3 separate regions of the Homo sapiens genome follow, and all the other regions are linked to region 1. Evidence: promoter capture Hi-C in 16 types of primary human blood cells and fetal thymus (Javierre and others, 2016). All regions are on one chromosome and are shown on one strand. The core of a region is centred on a gene start or on the middle of the fragment in contact, and the rest is flanking DNA. Distances in the headings are between cores, read along the strand shown.

Region 1 (4,869 bases), core at 2,302-4,801:
GTACAGTGGCGCCATCTCAGCTCACTGCAGCCTCGACCTCCCAGGCTCAGATGGCTCTCCCAACTCAGCCTCCTGAGGAGTTGGGACTACAGATATGCACTACCATGCCTGGCTAGTTTTTTGTATTTTTAGCAGAAATGGGGTTTTGCCATGTTGCCCACATTGGTCTTGAACTCCTGGACTGAAGCAATCTGCCCACCTCAGCCTCCCAAAGTGCTGGGACATTTTTCAGCTACATTTTGGGGTTGACCTAGCCCCTACTCCTTCACCTTGGACACTTGTTTAAAAGAGTTGTTTTTCTGGAGAAATCACAAACAAGCCTATATTGAATCAGGTACAAATGTCTCTTCCCCAAAGAAGTTACAGATAACTCTCATTTTGCTTTTTTCCCTTCAAAACAATTCCTGAGTGCTGGGTTCATGAGAACCAAGAATTAGAGAGGCATTGACTAAATCTGGAAAAATGTGGGCAATGTAATGGGCAAAGCAGAAGGGCGTCAAAGTAAATACACTGGAGGAAGTAGGATTCTTCCTCCTCCCGTATACTTCCTGAATCTAACCACAGAACACCATTACCTTCCCCATCATTTCCACAGAATTCCATAACTCCTTTACAAATATACTCACCTGTAATGCCAGCAGTTTTGGAGACTGAGGTGGGCAAATTGCTTGAGCTGAGGAATTCAAGACCAGCCTGGGCAACATGATGAAACCCCGTCTCTACCAAAAAAAAAAAAATTACAAAAGTTAGCCAGGTGTGGTGGTGCATGCCTGTAGTCCCAGCTACAGGGTGGGGAGGGGTGGGATGGGTGTGAGGATCACCTGAACCTGGGGAAGTCAAAGCTGCCTGTTGTGAGCCGTGATTGTGCTACTGCACTCCAGCCTAGGTGACAGAGTGAGACCCTGTCATAAAAAAAAATATATGTTTATAATACATATACTCACCAGAATGAAGGATTTAGTTTCCAGTTTTGTTGGTGCTCTTTAACATAATACACCTTTGGCATCAGTTTGCATATCCGGGTCATTTTACTTCTGTGGTCCTAATTTACCAGATTATAAAAATTTAGATTTTTCGGTCGGGTGCCGTGGTTCACACCTGTAATCCCAGCACTTTGGGAGGCCAAGGCGGGTGGATTGCCTGAGGTCAGGAGTTCGAGACCAGACTGGCCAACATGGTGAAACCCCGTCTCCACTAAAAATACAAAAATTAGCTGGGCGTCGTGGCACATGCCTGTAGTACCAGCTACTCAGGAGGCTAAGGCGGGAGAATCGTTTGAACCCGGGAGGCAGAGGTTTCAGTGAGCCAAGATTGCACCACTGCACTCCAGCCTGGCGACAGAGTGAGACTCTGTCTCAGGGGGAAAAAAAAAAAGTAGAAAGAAAAATTAGACTTAAAAAAAAAGTTAAATTGGGTTGATTGCCTTTATGAATCAGGCCTTCAAGAGAAAGGTTTCTGTACCACATTGTTAGGGTAAAGGAGAAGATATCATCCAAGGGCCTAAACAGCAAGGATAAATTGGTTAATGAGAGTCTCTGAGAGCAGAAAAAGGACTTAAAAAAATATATATATATATATATATGGGCCGGGCGCGGTGGCTCACTCCTGTAATCCCAGCACTTTGGGAGGCCAAGGCGGGCAGATCACCTGAGGTCGGGAGTTTGAGACCAGTCTGGCCAACAAGACTACTAAAAATACAAAAAAATTAGCCGGGCATGGTGGCGCATGCCTATAGTCTCAGCTACTCGGGAGGCTGAGGCAGGAGAATCGCTTGAACCCGGGACGCAGAGGTTGCGGTGAGCCAAGATAGCACCACTGCACTCTAGCCTGGGCAACAGAGCAAGACTCTGTCTCAGAAAAAAAAAAAGATATCACTGAGTGATGCCTTCATTTATTTATTTACTGCATTTGGCTGCTGTGTTTCCAGTCTCAGTTGCAATTCCCACACTGAGGCTCTCCCACCCTTCCTGTGTCCCCTGAGCTGAGCAGGCACTTCCTGTCCTATTGGAAATGAAAGTTAGAGATTGGGGGTAGGGTATGTATATTTACTCTGCAGAATACTAATACTGTCTGTTCCATTATCATAGCAAAAAAGTGACACGGAAACTAGAATAGAGACCAGAACTTCATTTGAGGGAGGGTTTGGGCTTAATATTTGTTGTCACAAAACAGACAGGGTTAATTTATATCTCAAGAAACTACTTAGGATGGCAGCAAGGTGGCCTTATGAAGGGATTTGAAGGCTTTCATTTAACATCCCTATTGCACTTGGATTGGTAGGGGTTACTGGATATCATTCTTAAGTTTTTGGTTTCCTTTCTTGTTAAGGTTACGCCTACAAAGACATTCTTTGGAAACTAGTAGAGGTAAGTGTTGCAACTCTATTAGGTTCTTGACTCTGAAATTTGTATTCCTTCCTAAGAATTTTGTGTTTTTATTCTGTTGAAGCATATGCTTCTTAAGTATTTTTTTTTTTTAAACAGCTCAAAGACAACTCAAAGCAGACATCCCAACTGTAGACTTCAATTTAGACATAAACTCCAGGTTTGGTGAGTTACTGTAATTGTTTCAGTTTCATGGATCTTAAAGATGAGGAAATAGCAGGGTAAAGTGTTAAATAAGATAGCCTGCAATTGTTAGAGAAATAACAAGGCACCAAGTTTCATGATATAGTCCAGTCTGATAATTCCTTCTTAAGTATGAACTCATTCCTCGGAGAATCTGAAATAGGAGTGAGGGGCATCAGCCCATTGGTATGACCCAAGAGAAACACATCTAAGGATCTGAAACTAGTTATACCCCATACTCTGTTTTGCTTAGCTCTGCTCTTTGGTGTGTTCCTCTGTTTGTTCCTTTGTACATTAAGATCACTATAAATGGGCCAGGGGTGGTGGCTCATGCCTGTAATCCCAGCACTTTGGGAGGTTGAGTGGGTGGATCACTTGAGGTCAGGAGTTCGAGACCAGCCTGGCCAAGATGGCGAAACCCCGTCCCTACTAAAAAATACAAAAATCAGCTGGGTGTGGTGGTGGTCACCTGTAATCCCAGCTACTCGAGAGGCTGAGGCAGGAGAATTGCGGAAGGTGGAGGTTGCAGTGAGCCGGATCCGGGATTGCACCACTGCACTTCAGCCTGGGTGACAGACTAAAACTCTGTCTCAAAAAAAAAAAAAAAAAATCACTGTAAGTGTAAAGTAGGGGAAGCCCTGAGCTTATCTCACACACTCTAACTCTGTTTTTTTTTTTTTTTTTTTTTGCGTGTTCTCCAAGGCAATGTCTCAGGAGCCCCTTTAAAATCAAGCTTGAAATCTTATAGCTGAGATCTAAGGGTGGAAATAAAGCCCTCATTGTCTTTATATGAGAATCGGAACTTGTTCATAGAGGAAAGGGGATAAATTTGAAAGGGGTTAGACCTAAGAACTCTTCTTTCTAGCTTTAACTCCTGAGACTATGAAAAACAAACAAAAAAAAACATCTTGGGCATTAGGACCCAGTGGAAGTGCCTCTGCCTCATTCAGACTCTGTTAACTTCTCTCAGTGACGTAAAGGAGCAGCCCGAGCTCATTCTCTGCCCGCAGCCCCCCTTCATCTCTCTCCTCCTGCTCCTTTTCTCCTCCTTTCTCCTCCCCCTCCCTTTTTTCCTCCCTCCCTCTCCCCCTTTCCCTCGCTCCCCTCCTCCCTCCCTCCCCGTCTTTCTTACCCCCTCCCTTTCTCTCTCTCTCTCTCTCTCGCTCGTTCCCTAACATTAAAGAGAAAATGCTGCTATCCGTGACTTCCAGGCCCGGGATTTCGACTTTTGGCTACAATAGAAACAACAAGAAGGTAGGGAAAAGCGCTTTTTTGGTATCTAGCTACTTCTTTTTCTGGGGATCTTGCAATGCCCTTGGTTTTTACATTCTTTTTAAAGAGGGGAAGGGGCTTCCTCTCTCAAGATTCCTAATTCCTCACCGCGCTTCTCCCTTTTCCACTACTGCTTTCTGCATCTTTCCTCAACTGGTTCTGGAGTTCAGGGAACTTTCAGTCTCTGCGAGGCCTGAAAAGACAGGGGAATTAAAAACAAATCAAGCTTGCAAGTTTGTATCCTTATGAAATGAAGTTAGTTTGACTTCCTGCTGATGTATCAATCTCCACAAGGATAATATGTCATTTCAGACCCTGTCCCCCAGTCCACCCCACCCCACAAGATTATTTTATTTTTTGATTAACTGTTTCCATTCTCTCCCCAACCTTCCCTCCTACCCATACCACCAGTAGTATTAGATAGCTGAAATCATAGATAGTCAGAGAAACCACAACAGTTTATCAAGAGCTGGGTATACTCTTCTAGACTACAGATCCTACCCCACCCAGCCTATAGAGAAGGAGTCTTGAGAGACATCGCACCTTGGGATTAAGGCACAGAGCGCTGTGATACTTTGGATCTTGTATTTGAACTGATACTTGGACCTCTGCAGATAGCCAGACTTTGCAGTGATCCTAGGAGTCTTTATGATTAACCCATGGCTGCCAGAGAATTGTGCTGTCCTTGGGCACATGGGGAGAGATGGACAATCTTGTCCATATTTGACAAGGAATATATTTGGCAGTTTCTGGCATTTCAGGGCGCACAGCATACTGATTAGGAGGAATTTCATGCTGTAGCAGGAAGAAGACTCTTTACCCTCTCTTTGTGTTGTAGCTGTTCTTTGAAGAAAAAATGTGACATAGACATTTAGGGAATCTTTTGCTCATCTAATGGAATGTTGGAGGGTGAGGAACGATTCCTGCTGCTTTCTCATGTACCTAATGAGACCATTAGAGGTGGATTTAAACACAAGTGTCTGATCAATGCAGTGGGTAAATGTTTAGACCCAAAACACTTAATGTTGAT
Region 2 (5,014 bases), core at 1,840-4,339, 540 kb after region 1:
TTATGGATATCAGGGCCTGGGGGGACTATCTGGCCTATTTGGGTTCTTTCATTCACCAAAATTCTATTATACATGCCAAGGGTTAAAGGGAACACCATCAGTCAAGAGACGGCTGGGCCCTAGAATGGAATCTATTAGCATAAAATGGAACAGTGGGACCCAAAGAGCTATCAGCAAAATTCCCTTTGTAACAGACGTAAAAATCATGAATTTGAGGGGAAAAATAAACTAGTTTTGGTGGGATGCAGTGGCTAACAGGAATTACTTATTAGAAGGTAATGAAGTTGCTAAATTTTCCTTGTTTTTGATCCCTGTGTTCTGTTGGTCTCTTGAAGCAATCTGAGTGGGAAAGGAAAGTGAAAGAAATGTTTTATGCCAGCTGCCTCTTGTATTCCCATTAATGGGAGTCTCTACATTAATGCTCTACATAATTTGGTCAGACTGATGAGAGGCAATAGATTTCCAATGCTGATGAGATCCAGAGCCCTGGAGCCCATTTATGGCTTGACATTCACCCAGCAAGACGCTGACGTGGCAGCAAACACGGCTCCAATGTCCAGCTTACCTCATAGTTATCCCTTCAATCCTTCTTGATGAGATTGGTCTGAGAGATGAGACTGTACTGAAATCACAAGAGCTATAACTGCCAGAGAAAAATTAAATGGGGTCTTCAAGTAGTGACTGAGCCAGCAAACTAAGTGGCCAAGAGGGAGACAAGAGCAGCTCCTAAAGAAGGTTGAAGTCAAGCAATCTCCGGAACACAGAGGATCTGAAGCATCTGGGCAGAGCCACAGGCAGGCAGGGCAAGGACACACAGCACACCAGAGCAGCACCGTCCTTCACTGTGTGAGAGCAACTCTCAGGCTGCAGAACCAATTGCCATCTCCACTGCCTACAGCTCAGGTCTCCAACTACCAGATAGGGAGTAAAAAACAGTTTGATTTTATTCACCTCAAGTCTAAACACGGTGGAAAAAAAACTGGTCTAGAGATGGAAACTATATTTCATGGGGGTTTATTAAACAGAGAAAGAGGAGAATCTTTCACAATTTCACAGTGCTTTCTCATTGAAATAAAGACATGATCAGGAAAAGTCACCCTTATAGGCAAGCTATCACCTCCCTAAGTAGGGGAGGCACCAAAATCTCCAGAGAATCCTGAGACCACTTGCACGAGTTGAATTATTTTTTAAAATAAACTTATGCTTAAATATGCTAGGTCTCAATTTCTATAAATAAGGTAAAAAATAGTATATTTCAGAAGTTTTAATAGTTCTTTGTAGAGAGAGAACATTTTACCATGTACATAATTCACAAGGGTATAAAGGTTTCCCAATGTAAAGTTCCTTTTACCCTTCAACTGTAACCCATAGCATCTGCCCAAATACTGCTCATTTTTCACTTTCTACTATATGTCTCTTTCCTGCCAACTGAGGTAGTTGTCACTTAGGACAGTTTAAGGCTCTGGAAAACACTGGTGGAAATAATCAACTGCCCACCTGGAGGGCAGTCTCAGAGCTGACCCTTTGGAAGTCTGCAATGGAGCTAGGCCTTTCAAAATTACCACGCTAAATGGCTGGTCTAAAGGAGTCATTACGGCTTTTTAAAAAATCATCTGCCTTTTTCCATCATCTTGGTGAGCCAGTAAGTCTGGTGCTGTGCGCTTGCCATGACCATCTATCTTCCTGGCTAAGGTAATTACAGACTTTTCCAGGGTATAAGGGTGAAGACCACAAAGAAAAAGAACCAAGTAAATGACAGACACTTGAGAATTTGCTTCCTCACAGATGACATTGCTGGTTTATAAGGGGTACTTTGCAATGGCAAAAGAATCTGAAACTAATGCTACTGCAATAACAGGCAGCATACATCTCAGGTCAGAAACGCAATCATAAATAAGTGTAAGTTCATGGAAACTTGACAGCTGAATGAGCACCCAGAGGCATGAAGATAACCTGGAGCCTATTTCCTGGCAATGCAAATTGTGGCTGCTGCATAACTACAAATTGTGTATCAAGAAACTACATAGTTTCAAGGCTTAAAAATTACCCAGATTTGGGGGAGTATGGGTGGTGAGAAAAGGCTGAAAGGAATGGACAGAGCATGTAGACAAAGGAAGGGAAAGGAAAAGGAGACAGTTTCCTGATTTCATAGCAACTCAAAGATAACATGACCCAATGACAGGAAAATGGAGAACGTATAAAAAGCATCCAAATCCCCTAAACAAGATGACTTCTCCTAGCTAGCAGGAATAATGCTACTCTGAACATACATAGTTCACAGGTAAGGGAACTGACCCTTCCTGAAAGGGCAAAGGCAGGGTAAGGAAGAATGGGAAGAGAAGAATACAAATGTTTTTTAAGATGGAATTGAAAGTTGAATATAATAAAAAGCCCAGTACATCTCACCTGCAGAAGAGCCTACAGGCATGTTCCTAAAGGCAAATAGGACTTTCTATCATATGTATGAGAACTAAATCAAAGCTTAAAACAACAGCTCCTGGGGCTTTAATGGATAATCCATATTAATAAATATGTAGGGGCCTAGGGGGTGTGTCACTCTGGAGCACTTGCTGGTTCTGGAACATGAGTTTGTTATGTTTTTTAAAAGACATTCATTTAAAAAACAAAACAATAAAAATCTATTTTCCTCCCAAAACAGTTAAATCAATAATTATTCTAAAGTCACTGAAATAAAAGCTGGAGTGAAGGAGGCTCAGATTTGTGGATTTCTCTCTGGAAGTTGCAGCCTATAGTCTAAAAGCATTCCTGCACTTAACAACAGTTCTTACTTTGGAGAGCCAGCCAGTGACAGAAATGCCATGATTGAATCAACTTTCAAGAAGGAGCTAGAATGCCATGCTAGCTGTGGCCATCCAATTTCTCTGGAAACATAAAAGTGGGCTGTTAGCTTAACCAATGGGAAGTGAACTACCCAGCATTCACTACTTTATCCACTCTCCTTCCTCAGGGATCCCATAGAGACCTCCCATTTCCAAAGGGAGGCCTTTTTAGGCCTCTTATTTCAGTAGGAGAATTTCTACCCTATCTATCTCACTCTGTTTCAAAGGGTTGAAAGCAATTGCACAACACATGCAACATGGACCAAGGCACCAAGCCAGTCCACGTAAAGATAACTGACCACTACCTAGGTTAGAAAGTTGTTCTGTGTGATAGCAGGACACCGAGAATATGAGTCCTCCTCCTCAGAGGATGCTTCCTCATAGATTTCATCCTGGGCAATAATGCTCCCTAATCCATACTCCTGCTCATGGACAGAAACTTCATTTGGCGTGAGGTGGGAAGAGCCTTCCACAAAGTCAGCAAATCTGGAAAAGAGAAGATAATACTCGTTAGAAATATCCTTCTGTCCTTTCTGGTCTTCTTTCAAAATAAGAACAAATTAAAGCCCTCGATATGCTCGCAACTCAAATTATATTAAGTCTAGCCAACATCCTTGTCCTTACTCTGGCAGGTAAGTAGACTAAAGCATGAAGTTAAGGAGAAAAGGAAAGCTGGGATCATAGGCTAATACCCCTGCAACTCCATCCTGCTTAATAAGCACTTGCCTATCCTTTCTAATTATGAAAGTGCCAAGGTTCCTTTAGTCATCTGTAATCCTGATAAGAGAAGATTAAGGGGCATTACAGTTATTCACGTTTATGGCCCTGTAAACTTTATGCCATCATGATTCCAAATTGAAGCTTCACATACTCATTGGTACATTTGCCCCCAACTAAAAAGTGGGTAGGGGGGAACCCTACCAACTCAGACAGCAATGCAAAACTTTCAGAAGGGAAACTTAATATGGTACTGGAGTCTTCCCATCTTAATGCTACAATCAAAGCTAGAGTAGATAGTTCCCTGAGGAAACAGGTTACTGCTTAATGTGTGATTATATATCCACCCTTCTCTTGACTACTTGAAGATTAACAGGAAAACAAAGGTCACAAGTGCACGATTCTCTAGAAGTATGATCTCTGGTAGAACTCAAGGTCACAATTACCCTGATAGATGCTTGGTATATCTGGCCGAGTTTACCTTTTTGGAGACTGGATTCGAGAAACAGTCTTCCAAGCAGAGCAGTCTGGACTGTTACAAAATTCTCGGAGCTCCTCTAAAGCCTTTCGGGTTTCTACCTCTCCTTGTATCCGATATTCTTCTTCTGTCAGGAGACGAGGGGGAACAGGCTTTTCTGCTCCCTTACACACCTTTCTGTGCTCACCAAAATAACATTATGAATCATTAATCAGTAATCTATATCCATCCTTACTTCTAGCTCCCTTCAGTGGGCCAAGAATACAGCAGACAGCCTGAACATTAAGAGTCATCACTCCTAAAAATTCCATGGACATCTTTAGTTATAATGAACTCCTGATACATTAGACTATGAGTGACAATTCATAGGCGACAGAGCGAGACTCCATCTCAAAAAAAAAGTGATATAATTTGCACCACCTTGTGGTAACAGGAACACATGACATTTTACTAGACCTTTTTATTTTATATAAAATGACTAGAATAAAAATATAAAAATGCCTATAGAAAGTAAAAAATTATAGTCAATATTATTCACTAATGTGAACAAACTCACTTTATTTTCCAATAAATGATAAAATACTTACTTATTTTCTAGTAGATGGGAAAATAACAGAAAATCATGGTATAAGACTGTGGTTCTAGCCAGGCACAGTGGCTCACGCCTATAATCCCAGCACTTTGGGAGGCCAAGGCAGGCAGATCACCTGAGGTCAGGAGTTGGAGATCAACCTGACCAACACAGAGGAACCCCATCTCTACTAAAAATACAAAATTAGCCAGGCATGGTGGTGCATACCTGTAATCCCAGCTATTCGGGAGGCTGAGGCAGGACAATCGCTTGAACCAGGGAGGCGGAGGTTGCAGTGAGCCGAGATCATGCCATTGCACTCCAGCCTGGGCAACAAGAGCAAAACTCCATCTCAAAAAAAAAAAAAAACAAAAAAAAACGCCGGGCAAGGTGGCTCACACCTGTAAT
Region 3 (4,891 bases), core at 364-2,863, 690 kb before region 1:
GACTTCGTTTCCGACCCAGCCGATGTCGACCAGGGGACCTGGGATCCCTACGTCCACCCTCCCGAGTATCCTCCTTCGTTGGAAAGCGGTGCCGCTGTCTCCGGGATGGGGGTTTCTTTCCGCTGGACACACGTGAAAAATCACTGGGGAACTTGAGAGATTCTTCATCATCATATTCCTCTTCCAACTCATCTTCCCCCAAAGCTGGAGAGGTACAGTGGTGGCAAAAGTTGCTAGAAGAACCATTTCCTCCCTCAGAGTAAGGCCCTTCTGGAATTCCAGGTGTTCCCTGGCAGTTGCAAGCAGATGGAATGGAAAGAAAAGAGTTCCCATCCTTCTGGTTCCCAGTCTCGTTTTCTTTTGAGAGTTCCTGGTCCACTCCTGATTCTTCTTCTGAAGACGTCTCACTCTGATCAGGGTCCTCTGCATCTCTAGGTGGTCCTGGACCCCCTGGGGGGCCATGGCTTGGGTCCAACCAATGGGCTGGGTTTGGGTGCTGTGTGTGCTTAGGACCAGAGTGCTCTGTGAGGCAGCGGGTACCATTAGGAGCAGTCCCTGCTGAGTCCCTGAGTCCTGAGAATGAAGGTATTTCAGGGTCCACGGAGGGTCCTAAAGTCCTGAGGGAGGCACCACCACTGTGGTGGGCTCCATACAACCCTCTTTCTCCGGGGTGCTTCTGGGCCATGACCCCGGGGCTTCCTGAGGGTCTTAGGTCACAGCCATCATGGTGTGTTCTGATGCCTGTAACAGATATCAAGGTGGAGACAGTCAAGGATGAGACCAAGAGAGGAATTAAACAATCTCAAATAGTGGACACATTTAATTCATCCACCTCCCTTGTTTTCCCAAGTTCTTTTGGGGCATTCGCTATTCCTAGCAATAAGCCAAAACTAGACTCACCACAACCCTGCTTGCTCCCTCCCCTCTCCTCCAAATCACTTAAGTTTTTCTTCTTTCCCCAGAAAACTATAACCTTCAATCAGGGAAACAGGGAGGTACCGTAAAGGGTGTGGTCGGGGGAGGGTGGGTCACTCTTAGGAAAATGGGAAAGACCGCCGGAAAGGGGGCCACAGACTTCCAGTAATGGGTGGGGGCCATGCGGCCCTGGAGGAAAATCTGGGGGCGGAGCTTAGGGCTGCCCCTAAGAAAGACTAACAGGGAACCCACCGGCTGTGTAGAAGGGACGAAGGTGGCCGGGCACCGTGGCTCACGCCTGTAATCCCAGCACTTTGGGAGGCCGAGGCCGGCGGATCACGAGGTCAGGAGTTCGAGACCAGCCTGGCCAACATGGTGAAACTCCGTCTCTACTAAAAATACAGAAATTCGCCAGGCGTGGTGGCGCGCACCTGTAGTCCCAGCTACTCGGGAGGCTGAGGCAGAAGAATCGCTTGAACCCGGGAGGTGGAGGTTGCAGTGAACCGAGATCGTGCCACTGTACTCCAGTCTGGGTGACAGAGCGAGACTCCATCTCAAAAAAACAAAAAAAAACGAAAAAAAAAAAAAAGACGGACGTACCGAAGAACGGCGGTAACTCCTCCCCCTCGAGCCGCCCGGCCTGGGGCCAGGGTGAGCTACGAGAGCCGCTCTCCCGGCTCCGCCTCCCGCTCACGCTCTGCTTCCGCCTTCCGTCCCCGCGGCCGCCGGCGACCTGGGCCTACTTCCACTTCCGGGGTCACCAGGGAAGAGACGGGAAGGAAAAGAAATAGCGGTTGGCTGAGAGGCAAGCCAATCCAGCTAGGGCTGCGTCGACTCCAAGGAGGCGGTCCTAAGGAAGTACTGGCCCCGCCATTTAAAGGCCCCTCCCTCCGCGTGTGGGAATGGGATTCCCGCAGGTTGCACCGCAGGAAGCAAGGCAGGTGGACTCTGCACCAATGCCTGCAGACTAAGGGCAGACTCTCAGGATTGCTCTGGGTGTATTCCTAGGCTTTGTATTCCTGGGAGATGGAGGGCAGCCACCGAGCCACATATAGTCTTTTTCCCTTGCAGACAAAACCAGGGAGCTCAGAAGAGTCACTGCCCTGATCCCTTCCGTGCCGGCAGCTGCGAGGACACAGGCCCCTTTGTATCCTGCGGTGCGGAGGTGGAGCAGAGGAGAGGGTGCCCCGGCTGGCCCCCTCCCTCGCCCCGCAGCACTGCCCCTCCTTTCACAGCAACCCACGGCCTCCCCCGCGCTTGACCCAGCTGGCGAGCTGCCCCTTATACCTGGATCCGCCCCTCGGGTCGCAGCTCCCCAGGCCCGATCACCGAGCGGTGCCTAGGAACTGGGAGCGTAACTTGGCTCGGCTCAGAACTTTGCCCGTGAGCCAAAGAACACTGAACTCATCTACCTGCTGCTTGACATCTCATCTGCATACCAAGCTATTTGGTGGACGTCCACAAGCGCCCCCGCCCCCACGTAGACCCAGTTGGGTCCCCGTTCCGTCGGTCCCCTCCTCTGCACACGCCTCTAGCCTTATACCCCGTCTTGATCCGAAAGTTTTTCCACCCATGAACCCCCAGTTGGCGCTCCCCGACCAGCAAAAGCCCCTTCCCTGGTCCACGATCCCGACCACCCGGTTCTCCAGGAGACAATACTCCAATTCTCTGGAAAGTGGAAGAAACCAAGCTGAAGCTAGGGGGGCGCTGGGACCCCTATTGGGGCTTTGAGAGCTTCCGGTTGTCATCTCCTAAGTATTCGGAGACCCTTCTCCAAAACTCTTGGGGTGACCCTCAAGACTCTTACCTGCTATATAGTTGGGGGTCTCTGGTCCTGGACTAGAGCAGTAGGCAACCTGGGTCCCCCCACACACACGGGAAAGAATTGGAGGGGCCTGCCTTGTGATGTCACCCCTCCTCCCCCCACCGCGCGCACGCGCGCGCGCACACACACAAACACAAACACACACCCCAACACACACGCCCTGTCCCCTTTCTCCACCCTGCAAGCTAGTTGCATTTAGCTCACAGAGCCTGGGCTGCGACTTGAAAGAGTTTAGGCAGCAACAGAGTGACCCTGGGGGTGCTCTTGACCGACAGCCGCACCCCCGGCGTCTAGGACCTCCGAGCAGGGATGCATCTGGAGGTCTAGGGAAGCACTTCCACCCCCTCCTCTCCTCAATCCTGGCAGGATGGTGAGTAGTTAACATCCCCTCCCCAACCCCCGCTTGTCCAGGGTCCCCAGACTTCCAAGCAGATTGAGGAGAGGAGCTCCGAGAGTCAACCCTCCAGCCTGTAAGGACCTTGATATCCAAAGGACAGCTGAAGAAAGTAATGTGCCTGCATTTTTGCCACTTCATTCCCACAGTGCCCGAAATGCCAGCTCCTCCTTGGTGTTCTCCTTTCAGGATTTGAATTCAAATCCCATTGGCAGCCCTGATACCGCTGGGGGAAGGGTGAGGTAGGAAAAGTCCCACCAATATCCTAAGGGGAGGTGCGAGTGGCTACCAGGATGTGAGATGTCTGTGGGCAAAGTCCCTGCTTATTCCATGAGGGGCTGTGGGATTAGGACTGTGGCTGGATGCCTCTTCCTCCAACAACTCCATCTCAGCATGAAGCTGAGGCTTTAAAACCCTGACAAACTGTGGGTGACTGTCTCTACTTAATTCCTCCTCCCAAACTCTTGGTGTCTGGTTTTTTCCCTCTTTCTGCCCTGGGCCTGGAGCAGCTGTCCAGAGACCCCCACCATGACTCATACTCTCCTGTTCTCCCTCCCTCTCCCCTCTCTATTAACCTCACCCTTCCCAATCCAGTGGGGTAGTATTAAGTCCCAGTCGCAGATGGGGCAATAATGTCCCAGCACCCCTCCCTCCACACACCCAGGGCTTCCTGTTCTTTCCACCCTCACCCTGAAGAGCTGCAGGGTGGTGGGGGGAGGCAAAGGCTCATTACTTTATAAGATTTTCATTACTTTATAAGATTTCATTTTACATTTTACTTAAGTGTACTTGTTTCAGAGAGTGGTAAAGACAGATCCTGCTCCTCTCAATCCAATCCTGTAGATTTCTTCAGTTACCTCAACAGGGTCATACTGGCTCCTGAAATGGGCACCATTATTTAAAAGAAATAGAGGTACAGAGTCCTCAAGATTTATGGGCACCTGAGTTTCTGCCCCGTGCCCCGCTGCAGGTTTCCCAATCCCCTAAAGACATTCATGGATGGGTGAGAGGAGCTGACACCTCCCGCTCTGTGACCACTTTCTCTTTGGCCATGGAGGAAGTCTTGCTGCCCCTGGCTGTGACATCTGACCCCAGGCCCTTTAATCAACAACTCCCAGAGCCTCCAGACCCAAGATGTGTTTTGGAACCCCAGGACAATCCTGAACTGGCACTTGCCCTGGTGTGTGCCCTTTGCTGCTGCTTTGGAATCATCTACTGCTGCTTCAGTGAGGGCAGGGCCAAGGACCTGGGGGGCCATTGCCCAAGACTGTCATCCTCAAGGATGATGCCAGCTTTCCTCCTTGCTCCTGGGCCATCTCACCTCCTCTGCCAGGGGTTCCTACCTCTAGTGTGGCCCATGTTGCTCTGGCTGTATTCCTAGGCCCATGTTGCTCTTGCCAGCTTCTTGTCCATCCTCCATGCCCATGCCTTCCAGCTTTCACCTCTGGCATCTATCATTTGCTCTTCTCTTAACTCCTACCTGAAAACCCCATTCCTAAATTATTCACTATATTTCAGACTTCTTCACTCTTCTCCAAAAACCTGAATCAGCTTGTGCTGATTTTTTCCTATCTGCTATCCCTAAAAGGACTAGACCTTCTTTCTATCCTTACTCCCCTCAATGTATCCATCTTACCTCTTGATTTTCCCTCCCATTCCCTCACAGTTCCTGAAACAGTGCCCCCCCCCGACCCTAAGCGACCCCTTTCTGCCCCTGGCCTTGAGGTCCCTTGACGTGCTGCTCCTGTCTTCTGCTC

What was found. Contacts are between HindIII fragments. The CHiCAGO score rates a contact against its expected background, and 5 or more counts as called.
Region 2: a fragment that was not itself captured here is called in contact with the fragment with the promoter of RBMS2 in region 1 in 1 of 17 cell types (total B cells); the score reaches 5.3 in total B cells.
Region 3: a contact is called between the fragment with the promoter of DNAJC14 here and the fragment with the promoter of RBMS2 in region 1, in 1 of 17 cell types (naive CD8 T cells). The highest score is 5.6, in naive CD8 T cells.

What each region holds. Positions count from the first base shown.
Region 1 is chr12:56,518,269-56,523,137 of GRCh38, forward strand. It overlaps RBMS2 (RNA binding motif single stranded interacting protein 2), which reads left to right and starts at 3,552. Exons shown (of 14, transcript NM_002898.4): 1 at 3,552-3,821. The coding sequence starts at 3,756. RefSeq lists an enhancer at 3,987-4,730. The HindIII fragment of the contact is 765 bases long and covers 3,299-4,063 here.
Region 2 is chr12:57,056,734-57,061,747 of GRCh38, forward strand. NEMP1 (nuclear envelope integral membrane protein 1) reads right to left here. Exons shown (of 9, transcript NM_001130963.2): 8 at 4,039-4,212; 9 at 1-3,326. The coding sequence ends at 3,146. Among named protein-coding and RNA genes, the nearest start is that of MYO1A, 9.1 kb to the left of the region's middle. The HindIII fragment of the contact is 1,220 bases long and covers 2,480-3,699 here.
Region 3 is chr12:55,827,974-55,832,864 of GRCh38, forward strand. It overlaps DNAJC14 (DnaJ heat shock protein family (Hsp40) member C14), which reads right to left and starts at 1,614. Exons shown (of 7, transcript NM_032364.6): 1 at 1,516-1,614; 2 at 1-741. The coding sequence starts at 685. It also overlaps the pseudogene TMEM198B. RefSeq lists a silencer at 1,552-1,661 and enhancers at 2,190-2,927, 2,882-3,081. The HindIII fragment of the contact is 16,581 bases long and covers 1-4,891 here.